3 separate regions of the Homo sapiens genome follow, and regions 2 and 3 are each linked to region 1. Evidence: promoter capture Hi-C in human tissues and cell types (Jung and others, 2019). All regions are on one chromosome and are shown on one strand. The core of a region is centred on a gene start or on the middle of the fragment in contact, and the rest is flanking DNA. Distances in the headings are between cores, read along the strand shown.

The links. Contacts are between HindIII fragments. The study calls those that stand out against the background at their distance.
Region 2: the fragment with the promoter of AATK here is called in contact with the fragment with the promoter of ENDOV in region 1 in 6 of the 25 tissues and cell types used here (dorsolateral prefrontal cortex, heart left ventricle, heart right ventricle and 3 more).
Region 3: the fragment with the promoter of TMEM105 here is called in contact with the fragment with the promoter of ENDOV in region 1 in 1 of the 25 tissues and cell types used here (lymphoblastoid cells).

What each region holds. Positions count from the first base shown.
Region 1 is chr17:80,412,805-80,416,953 of GRCh38, forward strand. It overlaps ENDOV (endonuclease V), which reads left to right and starts at 2,363. Exons shown (of 10, transcript NM_173627.5): 1 at 2,363-2,446; 2 at 2,846-3,017. The coding sequence starts at 2,391. RNF213-AS1 (RNF213 antisense RNA 1) reads right to left here and starts at 2,364. Exons shown (of 2, transcript NR_029376.1): 1 at 2,125-2,364. RefSeq lists an enhancer at 2,796-2,885. The HindIII fragment of the contact is 5,195 bases long and covers 905-4,149 here.
Region 2 is chr17:81,163,963-81,168,421 of GRCh38, forward strand. AATK (apoptosis associated tyrosine kinase) reads right to left here and starts at 2,259. Exons shown (of 14, transcript NM_001080395.3): 1 at 1,976-2,259. The coding sequence starts at 2,030. It overlaps PVALEF (parvalbumin like EF-hand containing), which reads left to right and starts at 1,545. Exons shown (of 7, transcript NM_001354639.2): 1 at 1,545-1,785; 2 at 2,715-2,882. RefSeq lists enhancers at 313-1,056, 1,057-1,800. The HindIII fragment of the contact is 13,495 bases long and covers 1-4,459 here.
Region 3 is chr17:81,328,075-81,332,389 of GRCh38, forward strand. TMEM105 (TMEM105 long non-coding RNA) reads right to left here and starts at 2,600. Exons shown (of 3, transcript NR_165247.1): 1 at 2,070-2,600. RefSeq lists enhancers at 369-940, 941-1,512, 1,513-2,082, 3,226-3,796, 3,797-4,315. The HindIII fragment of the contact is 14,660 bases long and covers 1-4,315 here.

The DNA.
Region 1 (4,149 bases), core at 1,113-3,612:
AAATGGTTCCCAGCACTAAAAAGATTTAAAACTCTTATATTAGGAGTTACAATAGCAATAGAAACCTGCGTTCTGCTCCCTTGTTTGCTACCCATACTTCTTCAAATGATAAAAAGCTTCATCGCTACCTTAGTTCACCAAAATGCTTCAGCACAACTGTACTATATGAATCACTATCGATCTGTCTTGCAAGAAAACATAGGTAGTAAAAATAAAAGTGACAACTCCCACTACTGAGTGAGATTCTCAGAGAGGGAGAATAAGGGAGACCACCCCTCATATTGTTTTACGCCCAATTTCTGCCTCCAAAGAGAGAAGTAAAAACTAAAAGGCAGAAATGAAATCCACAAGCAGACAGCCTGCACCACACCCTGGGCCTGGTAGTTAAAGATCGACGCCTGACCTAATCAGTGATGCTATCTATAGATTACAGACGTTATATAGAAAAGCACCGTGAAAATCCCTGTCCTGTTCTGTTCCGTTCTAATTACGGGTGCATGCAGCCCCCAGTCACGTACCCCCTGCTTGCTCAATCAATCACGACCCTCTCACGCAGACCCCTGAAGAGTTGTGAGCCCTTAAAAGGGACAGGAATTGCTCACTCGGGGAGCTCGGTTGTTGGAGACGTGAGTCTTGCCGAAGCTCCCAGCTGAATAAAGCCCTTCTTTAACTCGGTGTCTGAGGGGTTTTGTCTGCGGCTTGTCCTGCTACACTCTGGTGGGAAAGACACCGCAGCAGGGGAGCAGGGTGCGCAGGGTGCAGTGGGTGACGCTCATTCGCTGAAAACTGACCCTGCTTTCAAAGCCTTGTCAGTTCCCAAAGCTGTATGAAGCCTTTCCTGAGCCTCAACCTCTAGAGTCTAATTTCATCCTCTGTATTTTCCCCTTTGTTAGTCCAAACTGCGTCATTTTGTAAGCCCCTTTCCATTTTGTAGACCTTGGTCAAAGTGAAACATTCCACGGGGGTTCGAGCCATGAGAAACAGCCTGCCTCTTAACATATTCTGCTGGGACAAAGCGCCAGGAACACCACATTCTGCCGGAACCACCTCATCCTGGGAACACGTTAACATCTTCCCGGACAGCAAGCCATACTGCCTAGATCCCTCCTGCCCAGGCCTATGAGTACCCCAGCCTGTAATCGCTGGTGGGCTCTGGCATTAAGCTGGCCCCCGACAGGTGTTTGCAATACACCTGTGTTGCTGTAGAGCCGCCCGCGCGCCGGCAATCTCACTGTGCGTCATTCTTTAACCTTCACCTTCCCTTCAAAACCTAACACCCTTGACGTTTATATTCAGGCTATTATATATACATACACACATACACCCTTCTGAATCCTCCCAGGAGAATATAAAACCATGGGTTAAACTGCTACACTTCAGCTTCAGTGGCTGCCTTTCAGTGCTTCAAATACACCAACCTCTTTCCCACCCCGGGACCTGCACGAGAAAGCTGCTCCACTCACCCGCCGTGCTCTTTCACTCACCCTTCAGGTGTCTTCAATATCGCCTCTCAGGCCTTTCCCAACCACCGGTTTAAAGTCGGCTCCCCACAAATAAATACATATTCTCCCTCACAGTACTTCGCACAACACCTGGCACAGCGAGAGCACTGAACCAACACTCATTCAATGAGGAACACGAGGTAAGAACCAAGACCCCCCAAGGTCGCCGTACTTTGTCTGGTAGGAGAAGCTTTCTGCCCAGCAAGGTCCGACCCAGATGAAACCCCGTCCAAGTCTGCAGCACCCCCGTGAGTCCAGCCCGCTAAACTGTGAAGAATTTAAATACACGACACCTGCCCTCAAAAGCTTGAGGGCACCCCTGAGCTGCCATCGAGGTGGGGGCGTCAACGACAGGCGCTCAGTAAGTGCTCCTGAGGCAACTGCCGGGCTGTCCTGGACCTGGTGAATCCTTTCGGGGTTCAGCAAAGGCGGACGCTGACCGGGCCAAGGAGTGGGACCTGCAGTGCTGGACCACCCTTTTCCAAGCGCAGAAGTGCCGTGCCCGCCGGCTCTCAACAGGGCAAGAGGCCCCTCTCGCCGTGCAGAGCGCAGCGCTTGCGGCGGGGACAGCAGAGGCGGGACGGGCGTCACGGAGTTCCCGGGTCCTCGCGCGGTCACTTACCTGGCCTCAGCTATCCGCTGAAAAAGGGGCGGACGGCCTCCCGGGATCCGAGCCGATATCGCGCGCGGCGCCGCGGGGCAACCTGAAGCCGTGTGCGTGCGTGTGCGTTCACGCAGGGGCTCACCCAGCGGCCACGGGCTTCTGAAGACCCGGGTGGGAAGTGCGGCCCGGGAAAGCGCAAGCGTCTCCATGGCAACGAGGGCGGACGGCGTCAGAGCGAGTCGCTTCCGGAAGTGACGTGCGGAAGGGGTGCCCGGGACGAAGCCATGGCCCTGGAGGCGGCGGGAGGGCCGCCGGAGGAAACGCTGTCACTGTGGAAACGGTAATGCTGTCAGGCGACGCGCAGGAGGCGGGGGCCGAGGCCGGGCGGCCCTTCGCGGACCCTCCGAGCTCATAGTCTTCAGGCTGTGGAATCGGAGCTGCCACCGCCCGAGACTCCAAAGCAAAGCCCAGTTTCCGGCGCGGAAGCGGAGGGATCTCAGGAATTGTAGTCCGCGGGGTGGGCGCGGTTCTCGCTTCCGGCCAGTTTGTCTGGCCTGCGCTTGCGCGGGTCTCCGCCGCCTGGGCTCCTAGGGACTGTGGCCTCGGCGGTATGTCCCTTGCTTTCCCTTGAAGCGGGAGAAGACCCGGCAGAGGCGCTCTGTCCGCTGCAGCCGCGCGGGTGGAGGAGGCAGAGTCTGAGGTGTGACCCCGACCAAGTTTGACGCTTCTGTCCTCCTAGGGAGCAAGCTCGGCTGAAGGCCCACGTCGTAGACCGGGACACCGAGGCGTGGCAGCGAGACCCCGCCTTCTCGGGTCTGCAGAGGGTCGGGGGCGTTGACGTGTCCTTCGTGAAAGGGGACAGTGTCCGCGCTTGTGCTTCCCTGGTGGTGCTCAGCTTCCCTGAGCTCGAGGTAACCTGGGAGGACGCCGAGCTCGAGGCGGGCCCCTCGGTGGGCTCGGGCGTGCGGTCTCCGGGACAGGGAGCAGTGCAAGCGTAGAACCCGGCTTCTCGTTTTGTAGGATGTCATTAATAGTCTGGGGAGTTGGCCGGGCGCGGTGGCTCACGCCTGCAATCCCAGCACTTTGGGAGGCTGAGGCGGGGGAATCACCTGAGGTCGGGAGTTCGAGACCAGCCTGACCAACATGGAGAAACCCGGTCTCTACTAAAAATACAAAATTAGACGGGTGTGGTGGCATATACCTGTAATCCCAGCTACTCGGAAGGCTGAGGCGGGAGAATCGCTTGAACCCGGGAGGCGGAGGTTGCGGTGAGCCAACATCACGCCATTGCACTCCAGCCTCGGCAACAAGAGCGAAACTCCATCTCAAAAAAAAAAAAAAAAAAAAAAAGTCTGGGGAGTCTTGGAAGGGAAAAAAAGGCAAAAATTAAGGGAATTCTGTGACTATTAAGAATCAGCTCATGAGCTTTATCTTCAAGTCTGATTGTTATCTTGGGTTCTTCATCTCAGTGACCTGTCCACCACGCTCCCAGTTGCCCAAGCTGGAGATCTGCATCCTCCTGGGCCCCTCCGTTCCTCTCGCGTCCAGTTGCACACTAGCTCGCTTTTATTCTGCCTCTTAAATGTCGCTGGAATCTGTCCCCTTGTCTGTTTCCCCTCTGCTCCTTCCCTGGCTGTGCCACCATCACTCCTGTGGGTTCCTGAGCAGCATTTTCATGGGTGCCCTGGCTCAAATGTTCCTCCTCAGTGGTTTCTTTTCCATACTGCCAGCAGACCAATTTTCCTAAAAAGCAAGTATTTTCCTCAAAAGCAACAAGTCCCCTCCCTCCCTCCCTCCCTCCCTTCCTTCCTTCCTTCCTTCCTCCCTTCCTTCCTCTCTCTGTCTCTCTTTCCTTCCTTTCCCCTTCCCCCACTCTGTGCCCAGGCTGAAGTGCAGTGGCATAATCTTGGCTCACTGTCAAGATCTGATCTCAACCTCCTGGACTCAAGTGATCCTCCCACCTTAGCCTGAGTAGCTAGGACCACAGGTGTGAGCCACTACACCCGGCTTATTTTTTTATTTTTTGTAGAGACAGGATCTCAC
Region 2 (4,459 bases), core at 1,009-3,508, 750 kb after region 1:
TCTGGGTGCCCCCCCACAGACACAAGCAGCCTCAGAAGGAACCAGCTCGCTCCAATTCGGGGATGGCAAGGAGCCAGCCACATGCTGTAGGAAGCTTGGGCCCTGGGGGTCTCTGTCCCAGCACCACCACTCCAGCACAGACAGCCAAGTGCTCACCAAGCACTGAGCCCACCCGGGCCTGCCACAGGTACTGTCGGCCCATGTCATAGATGGGAAAACCGAGGTTCACAGAGGCAAGGCCAGGCAGAGGGACTGCAGCACAGGACAGCCAGGCTTGGAAGGCTGGGCTAAGTTTAGCGGGAGGGCAGGAGACCCCTCTCTCCTCCCTAACCCTCTCATGGGGGCTGGTGCAGAGCCTAGACCCAGCCCCTTAATCCGAAGGAGGGTCTCCTTCCTCACCAGCACCAGCACCTTGGGCAGCCCCTCCTGGTAGGTGGGCCCCAGAGCCCAGCAGGTGCCTGCAGCTCTGGCCCAGCATCTTGCAGAGGAGAGACGCCCCTTGCCTCCAACAACTTCTTTTCCTCTAAGTCATTAAACGGACACATTAGAATTATTCAGATCACAGCTGTTTACCCAGAGAAGGGCAGAGCCGGTGCTGCTCGAAGGCGGGGGAAAGGGCCTCTCATGGCCAAGGACAAGGCTGGGCCCCGAGGCAGGGTATGGGCCGAGGGTCCTCTCTGTTCTGGGGGCAGAAAGGACCAAGCACCGTGGGCCACGCCTGGCATGGAGATGTGATGAGGACCTGCCCCAAGCCTCCTCCACCCCCTGCCCTTGGGCCGGGGAGACATTACAGCTGTTGCCGTGGCTGTTGGGCTCTGAGCCTTCACCTGCCCACCCCACAGGGACTTCCGAGCCCCAGGGGTCACTACAGGAAGTCATTTCTGAGCAAGTGACACCCACAGCCCTAAGCCCAGCAGACAGACCTCCCACCAGCTCCCTTCCTCCAGGGAGCAAATGCCTTCAGACCGAGATCTGCCCCGGGGACCCCCGTGCCTCCCTGCCAGGCTGCGTGCACTGGGCCCTGCTCCAGGGAAGGAGACACAGGAGATCACGTCACATGCAAACAGGCTTTGTTTGGGCTGGCTCAGCCTGGTGCCAGAGCCCCAGTGACGTGTGGGTGGGACTTGGCCCTGGGGCCATGGATGGCACAGGGCAGGGGGATTATCTCCCACTCAGGCCAAGCAGGGGCCGGATCTGGAGAAGCAGAGGTTTTAGAAAGCCCACTGCTTCCTGGTGACAGATGGGGCTTCCAGCTGTCCCCAGCCCCCTCTGCCTATCCCAGCTGTCCACCACAGCCAGGAGGCCAGGCAGCCATGGGTAATCTCGCCCTGCCCGGTGCACTGGCCATACGGGGTAAGAGGCCTGGCCTCAGGTCCCCTGCAGCCAGCTTGACAGCGTCACCTCGGGCCCCCACTGTCAGGGGATCTGGGCACCCACCAAGGCCCCTCTCTTCTGAGCCTCTGCCCACTGGGCTCTGTAATGTGGACTGGCCCCTGCTCCCCCCACATCCCCCGCCGGCTGCTGGTGGCTGGGCAGGGCTCTGAGAATCGCTCCCAGCCTGGGAAGAAGCCTCCCACGCCAGGGCCCCGGACCCAGGAGAGGCCATGGAAAGCCTGAACCCCAGCTGGCTGACACCCCCCACACCCCCAAGGGCCCTTAGTCTGAGACCAACTCTCCTGGACACCAGGGGCCCACGCAGGCCCTCCGTGCCCCAGTTACCTGTGCCCTGGAGGCAGCCACGGAGTCACGACCACGCGGGGGACGCCAGCCCACAGGCGGAGGCCGGTTTGTGCTGGGGCCCAGGGCCTGCCCCTCCGAGATCTGGGGCCGCCAGGGGGTCCGGCTGCTTCTGCTGCTGGGCTCGGGGCGGGGAAAGGGTTAATTTCCATGCAAACCGGGAGCCGTGGGGCCCAGGGGCATCACGTCCGCAGCGGAGGGAGGCAGCGGCGCGCAGGCCGGGCCGCCAGGGACTCACCGGGGTCGAAGTGCGAGCTGAAGGCGAAGCTGGGGTTGAAGAAGGACGACGACATGGCCGGGCCAGCGGCCGGCGGGCATCCCGGGAGGGCGCTGCGCTCAGGACGCCCGCGGCCCCGGCCCGAGCCGCCGCATCACCCAGCGGCCGCCGCAGGTGCGGAGCGCGCCGGCCCCCGCGCCCCGCGCCCCCCGCCGCAGCCGCAGAGCCCGCACCGGTGGGGGCGGCGGCGACAGACGAGGCGCTCCGCCCGGCCCTGGCGCCGCGGGGCTCCGCTGGTGCAGTCCGAAAACGCGGGCGGGAGCGCGCGCGGAGCGGCGCGGGGGAGGGGGGGGCCCTCCGCGGCCGGGGTGGCATGGGGGGAGCACGGAGAGGGGGACACGGAGGGGGAGACAGAGGGGAGCACGGAGTGGGGGACACAGAAGGGGGCTTGGAGGGGGGACACGGAGGGGAGGCATGGAGGAGGGGGGACGGGGGGCCGTGCACGGAGCGGGGATGGCACGGAGTGGGGGGATGGTCCGGAGCGGGAAGCACGGCGGCCTGGGGCTGAGGGGGGCACGGAGGCTGGCGGGGGGGGGGGAAACGGAAGTCGTGAATGGTAAGTCGTGAGTGGGTACGGAGGGAACGCCGGGGTGGGGGAGGGGGTACTCCTAGGTGGAAAGGTTCAGGGAGACAGGTGGGGGAACCCGGGAGCACACCCAGGGCGGGTCTTGGTGCTCAGGGGCCCTCGCCTCACTTGCAGGTTTCGAGGCGGCTGGCAGCCGCCCCCCCACCCCATGCCCTTTGGGTGGCACCTGTGCTGGTGGAGTGGGGGTGGCTGGCTTTGCACACAGGCCTGCTCCTGTACCGTGCTGCGACAGCCATGAAGGAAGAACCTGGCTGAGTCTCCACCTGCCGTGGACTGTACCAGGTGCTTAGGGCAGCAGGTTGGCCTGGGCGCTGAGGGGCCATCCCTTCCCCTATGTTTCTCCCAGGATCCCCCATCCCCGCCCAAAGTGCCACCTTGCAGGGTTGGGGCGGGGCAGGGTCCCCCCAGCCTGCCCCCGTGGGAGTCGGGAGAGTTAAAGTTCAGTGGAAGCTGGTCCCAGTGGCTCATGCCTGTAATCCCAGCACTTTGGGAGGCCAGGGCAGGCGGGTGGCTTGTGCTCAGGGGTTCCAGACCAGCCTGGGCAACATAGCAAGACACTTTCTCTACAAAAATTAGAAAAATGAGCCAGGCATGGTGGCGCTCACCTGTAGTCTCAGCTACTTGGGAGGCTGAGGTGGGAGGATCACTTGAGCCTGGGAGTTAGAGGCCGCAGTGAGCCAAGATGGCACCACTGCACTCCAGCCCGGGTGACAACAAGATCTTGTCTCAAAAAAAGTGTCCTGGAGACTTGCAGTTGAGTTTGATGCACCCTCATCCACTCATTCATTCACTCACTCATTCATTCACTCACTCATTCATTCACTCACTCATTCTGGGACCAGATGGCTAAGCCCCTTGGCAAGGCCCAGTTGGGGTTGGGGGCTGTGGAGCAGGTGAGAGGCGCCCACTCCAACAGGGCTCTTAGGACTTTAGGGAGAGAAAGGAGCCTGTTCCCGGCAGAGGGACCTGCAGAGACCAGGACAGGATGCTTGGGCCACGGGGCAGATGGGCACCAGGACCCACCCTTCTTTTCCTAAGGGGGTCCCTCATGTAGGAAGTTTCCTCCTAACAGGCAAAGCAAGGGGCCTCCACCCTGTGCCCTCAGACCTTAGGGGTCCCTGGCTGTAGGAGACAAGACACCAACTGCACCTGGGGCAGAAGGAGACAGGGCACCCAGAGCCTTCTTCCTGGCCCTGATCATGTGGCCAGCCAAGGTTCTAAGGGGCGCTGCCGCCAGGCTGCCGTTGCAGGTAAAGAAGCCGCGTGGGTAGAGTGGCTGAAGGGGGCCTTGCCCGCAGGAGGCACTCAGAGGCCTTGGGCCACCTCGTTCAGTCTGTGTCTTCAGGGAGCCCAGAGGGCTGGGAGGATCAGTGCCCACCCAGTGGCAGGGATGGTTGGTGCCAGCAGGCTGTGATCCTGGAGTGCTCCAGTGTGAGGGACAGAGGGTATGGCATACCCTCATGAGTCTCCACTCTGGGTCCCCTGTCAGGGCCTCCCCTCCCCAGCTCAGGAGGGAGTGCCCTCCTCTGCCCAGCCTGGAAGGTGCCCTAGACACCTGGACCTAGGCAGGGGGAGGTGGCCAGTGGCCGTGGGTGGTTGCTGGTTGGCATGTTGGGGAGAGTTTCTGTCCAGAACTTCCATGCCCTCAGTGTCCCTGCCTTGATGACCAGGGCCAGAAACAGCTTGCTGTGACCAGGGGCTGGCTCCTCTCAGTTTTGCCTGTGAACACACACATGTACACTTGTGGCTGGGCCACAGCTCAGGGGCTTCAAGCTGTGGATCTTCTTGGGGCTCCAGGAAGGACAGGGGAGGAGCTGCCCCTGGGCTCCAAGCCAGCACTCCCACCCTACGTAACCAGA
Region 3 (4,315 bases), core at 1,350-3,849, 920 kb after region 1:
AGGCAGACCGAAGCAGCCGGGGCTGCCTGGAGGGCCTCAGTTCTGCTCCTCCCCAGCTGCAGGATCTGAGCAGGAGGCCTCCTCACTCTGCGCCTCAGTTTCCTCATCTTTATCTGGGGACGGAGCAGCCTCTACCTCTCAGAGCTAGTTGCGATCATGGTGGCAGCTGAGGCCCAGCCCTGGTATGCAGTGAGGGTTCAACTGAGCCAGCCCCCACTCGCCACAGGCTTGCCTGGGGAAGACAGGTGCATCAGCCCCGGGGTCCATTTCGCAGTGGGGCTGATCCCAGCCCACCCTCACCCGCCCGGGAGCCTCGCCCTTCACCCCATGCATCTTCTCCCCTGAATCACCCCCAGGGTCTCCAGGGCAGGAGCAGGGCTGGCAAGGGCAGGGCTCACAGCCCCATAGGGAGGACACAGTGCCCGCAAGAGGGACTGGGCAAGAGGTGGACAGGCAGGGGGTGGGGGCATTCTGTGTGCCCCAGAGCCTGAGTTCGCAGGCTCTCAGCAGCCCGTGCTGGGCAGCAGTGTGGGCGTCTCTCCCGCAGGGCACCCTCTGCACTTTCCTGCAGACCTGCAGCAGCCCTTTCCTGAGGGACACCTGGCTCCGGGCCCAGGGTGGGGGCGGGGCCTCGCGTGTCTCCCCCTTGATTTGTAAGAGTCCAGGGCTGTCGGCCATGGCCACACTGAGCACCCCTGGGAGCCAAGGCAGCTTAAGGACAAGGTGTGTATGAGGACGGCGGGGCCCAGGGAGGAGAGGCTAGCCCAGGGCTACCCGGGTCCCCGGAGTAGGGGCAGGGGACTTGAAAATGAGCCCCCAAGGGGCTCTGATGGGGGCAATTCCAGGAGAGGCGTGGGCAGGTGTGGGGCTGGAGAGAGGCCTGTCCTTTTTCCCTTGCCCTGCACACTGTCTGCAGGGTGGCAGACCCAGGCTGCCTGGCGAGGCTGCTTCTGGAGGCCTGAGGAAGGCTGGGCTGAGGACTCCGCCTCTCCTCAAAGCCACAGCCTCCCTGCTCTGGGGCTACATGTCGGGAAAATCCCTGCCTGGGTTACCCCAGCTGGGGACTCAAGCTCTCTTTGGACCCTACAGAAAGAGCTGGCCAGCCCCCAGGCCAGAAGGGCCGTCCGTGACCCACAGATGGCCCCAACACACTGTAAAACACGCATGATTTATTTTAGTGTGTGTTAGAAAAATAAAGCCAACACATCAAGCCTGCAATTTCGCAGATACTAACACTTCGGACCAGGAAAAAAGAAGCCCATGACATGGCACAGCGCTGTGGAGCGAGCGAGATCTGGGATGCGTAGGCCTGGACGGCTGAGGCTTGGAAACCCCTCCCCTCCCCAAACTTTCCCACCATGCAGGGGCCCAGCAGGCCCTCAGCCCACTCACCCCGCCAGAGGAGGGAGGAGGGAGGAGGGTCCGGGCCAGGTGGGAGCTTCTCCCCGGAGGCCTGAGGCAGCTTCCCTCCTCTCCCAGGAAGGGGCTGGCCCAGGCCCAGCTAGGATGCTCCCAGCCCAGCTCCTACCCGCCGGGTCTTTCCCGTTTGTCAGGCAGGCCGGCAGGCTGGGCTGGTGACTCATGACTGGCTGGGCCATCTGCCCTGCACCCCTGCCCCGGGCGAAGTGAGAAACCTGACCGGGCTCCAGCACAGACAGGAAACCCCACCCCAGGGCCTGCAGTGGGACAGGTGTGGCCGCCCTCCACCCCCACACAGGCCTCGGGGAGGGTGTCTGAGGCCGGCCTGGCCCTCTCTGCAGCACTGAAACACCAGCTGCCTCTCCCCAGCCCGGAACTGGGGATCCAGTGTCCTCCGCACTGACCCCAGGCTCTGCTCTCCCTGGGAAGCACCCGCTTTGACAGTGGGGCCAAGGACTGGGGTTCCCACCCTCCTCTGCCCAGTGGACTTTGTGGCCCCAGGCAGGTGGCATCAGCTCTCTGGGCCTAAGCTTCTCATCTCTGCAGGGTTCATCAGCTCAACAAGCATTTGTGGGTTCCTGAGACCTGAAGGCTCCACTCCCCCACCTAAGCACACAACAGTCCAGGCACCACCCACATCTCCCTCTTACCTGGAGCAGAGGGGCGGGTGTTCGGAGCCTTGGGGCCCAGGGTCATTTGCACTGGAGGGGGCCAGGAACGCTCCCAGGAGTGTGGCAGTCCCTTCCTAGGGGGCCCCTCCTGGAGCAGCTGCCTTGAGAGCCCAGCCTACAGCAGAGCCTGGTGGGGTGGCCGGGCTACTGCTACCTGGCTTCACTGCTTTCTTCTGCCATTCCTCCCAGGCTACCCAGGAGGACGAGAGGGGCAGGGTACTGGCGGCAGCAAGAGAGAACCCGCCCAGGAGGGCCCAGCACGGGAACTCCAGCCTCCAGAGCCAGCAGAGCCACGGGAACAGGAGTTCCTCCTCACAGAGGAGGCGCTGTTGGAGGGCCAGGAGCAAACTCCCAGCAGAGCAAAATGCAGAGGTGACCAGCCCAGGGCACACCAGCCACTGAAAAACCCAACAGTGGGGGCTGCCGTGGGGATCCAGGGTTGGGGGACTCTCAGACGGCCCCCCAGGCTTGTCCCCATGCGTATTCTTTGAGCTGATGGGGACGCAGTGTTCACAGTCCTGACAGGAGGCAGGCGTGACCCCAGTCGGGGAGTGGACTTGGCCCTCTTCACACCCCCAGGGCAGAAAGCCCTGTTCAGAGGTACCAGGGAGCAGGCACAGGCCAGGGTCCGAATTCGTAACAAGCATCCGGGACTCCACATGACGCAGGTCTGAGAATCGATCCCGGGTTCCAGCCCAGCCATCATTTTCAGAGAATACGGGCCCTGTCCCGAGCCGCCAGCCATTGCCAATGGCTGCCCGGAGGAAGGGAGGAAGGGGTGCCCCCAGCTTGTGGAACCAACAAGGGCTTAATGGTAGGGCACGCCCAGGGGCAGACGCCAAGAAAGGAGAGGAGGGGGCGGGGGCTCCGGCCAGGGAAGCCGTGTCCTCTGCACCAGGCAGAACAGGGGGCTGGGCCGCCCTCAGCCTGGATCTGGCCAGGGCTGGGATGCCAGCTCTGAGAACAGGGCCCAGCCCTCACCTGCTTGGTTTGCCTCTTGCCAGGGGAAGGGGCTCAGGAAGGTTTCTGAGCTGCCCCATGCCCCTGCCTGGAGTTCCTGACCCTCGGGGGAAGCTGAGGCTACAGAGAGCACGAAGTGCAAAAGGCCTGGTGGTTGGACCCAGAGCCCCTGTCCCTGGGTCCCCGCTCCTCCCCACCACCCCGTCCCAGCTCTCCCACGCTCCCACGAGGCCACATCATCTTCTGCTCCTGCTGAGTTCCCCTTCACGCATATGAAAAGCAAATTACAGGAGGGAGAAGGCAAACCCGGGGTGAACGGGGGCCTCCTGGGACTCCTTGGACCCCCGGGAGAGCCTGTGAGGGCTTCTATGGGCCGACTGGGATCTCAGGAGCAAAATAGGGGCCCCTAGCCCACAGCGGAGGGCGACTCTAATCAGCAGAGATCGCCCAGCATGCCTTATCCTCAGCAGCTCAGGGCCACCTGTGGGGCAGGGGGAGGGGGCCTGGCCAGCTGGGTCGGCCGCCCCCGGCAAAGCCAGGGGACGCCAGGAGCGGAGCTGTGTGGTGCAGAGCAACTGTGTCCCAGGGGAGGGGGGGTCTGTCTCCGCTCCTCCCAGCTGCAGGCCCTGGGCAGCCGCAACCTCTCAGAGCCTGCCTGCCCCTCTCCTGAGGTCTGGATTTTGCCAGCACAGAGCAGGGACCTCAGCAATATGCCCAGCCTGGCGCAGGCCCAGGGCAGGCCCTCTATCCGCAGGGCATCCTCTGGTCTACAAGTTCTGTGACGACGTGGCTGGCACCAGGGTCTGAGGGCTTTGATGCTGGGGAACGTCCTTGCGCCTCTGCAGTAGATGTGAAAGTCTGTGGAGCCCGGGGACCTGGAGCAGGTGGCCTGGGTGGGGCTGCTGCCTTCTGGGCCAGGACCAGATTCCACTCCCTGGCTGGACAGCCCTGGGCACAGCGTTTAAACACCCAACACTTCAACTCTGCTCTGTGAAACGGGGATGATTCTAACAGTGCTGGATCACGGCATGGTTGGGAGGCTTGGGTGAGGTCATGTGTTCCATGATCCTGTCCACACGAAGGTCATGCAGCCTTGGGGGGCACTGGAGCGGCAGGTGTGGTTTTGGGGACCTGCCACGGGCCACAGCCCTAGACCAAGCCGGACCATCGGGACTCTTTTCCTGGAATTTGAATGCTGAGCCGAGGGACACTGGGCTTGTGCTGGGGCCACTCCCGAGCCGCTGCTGTTGGGGCCTGAACAGCGC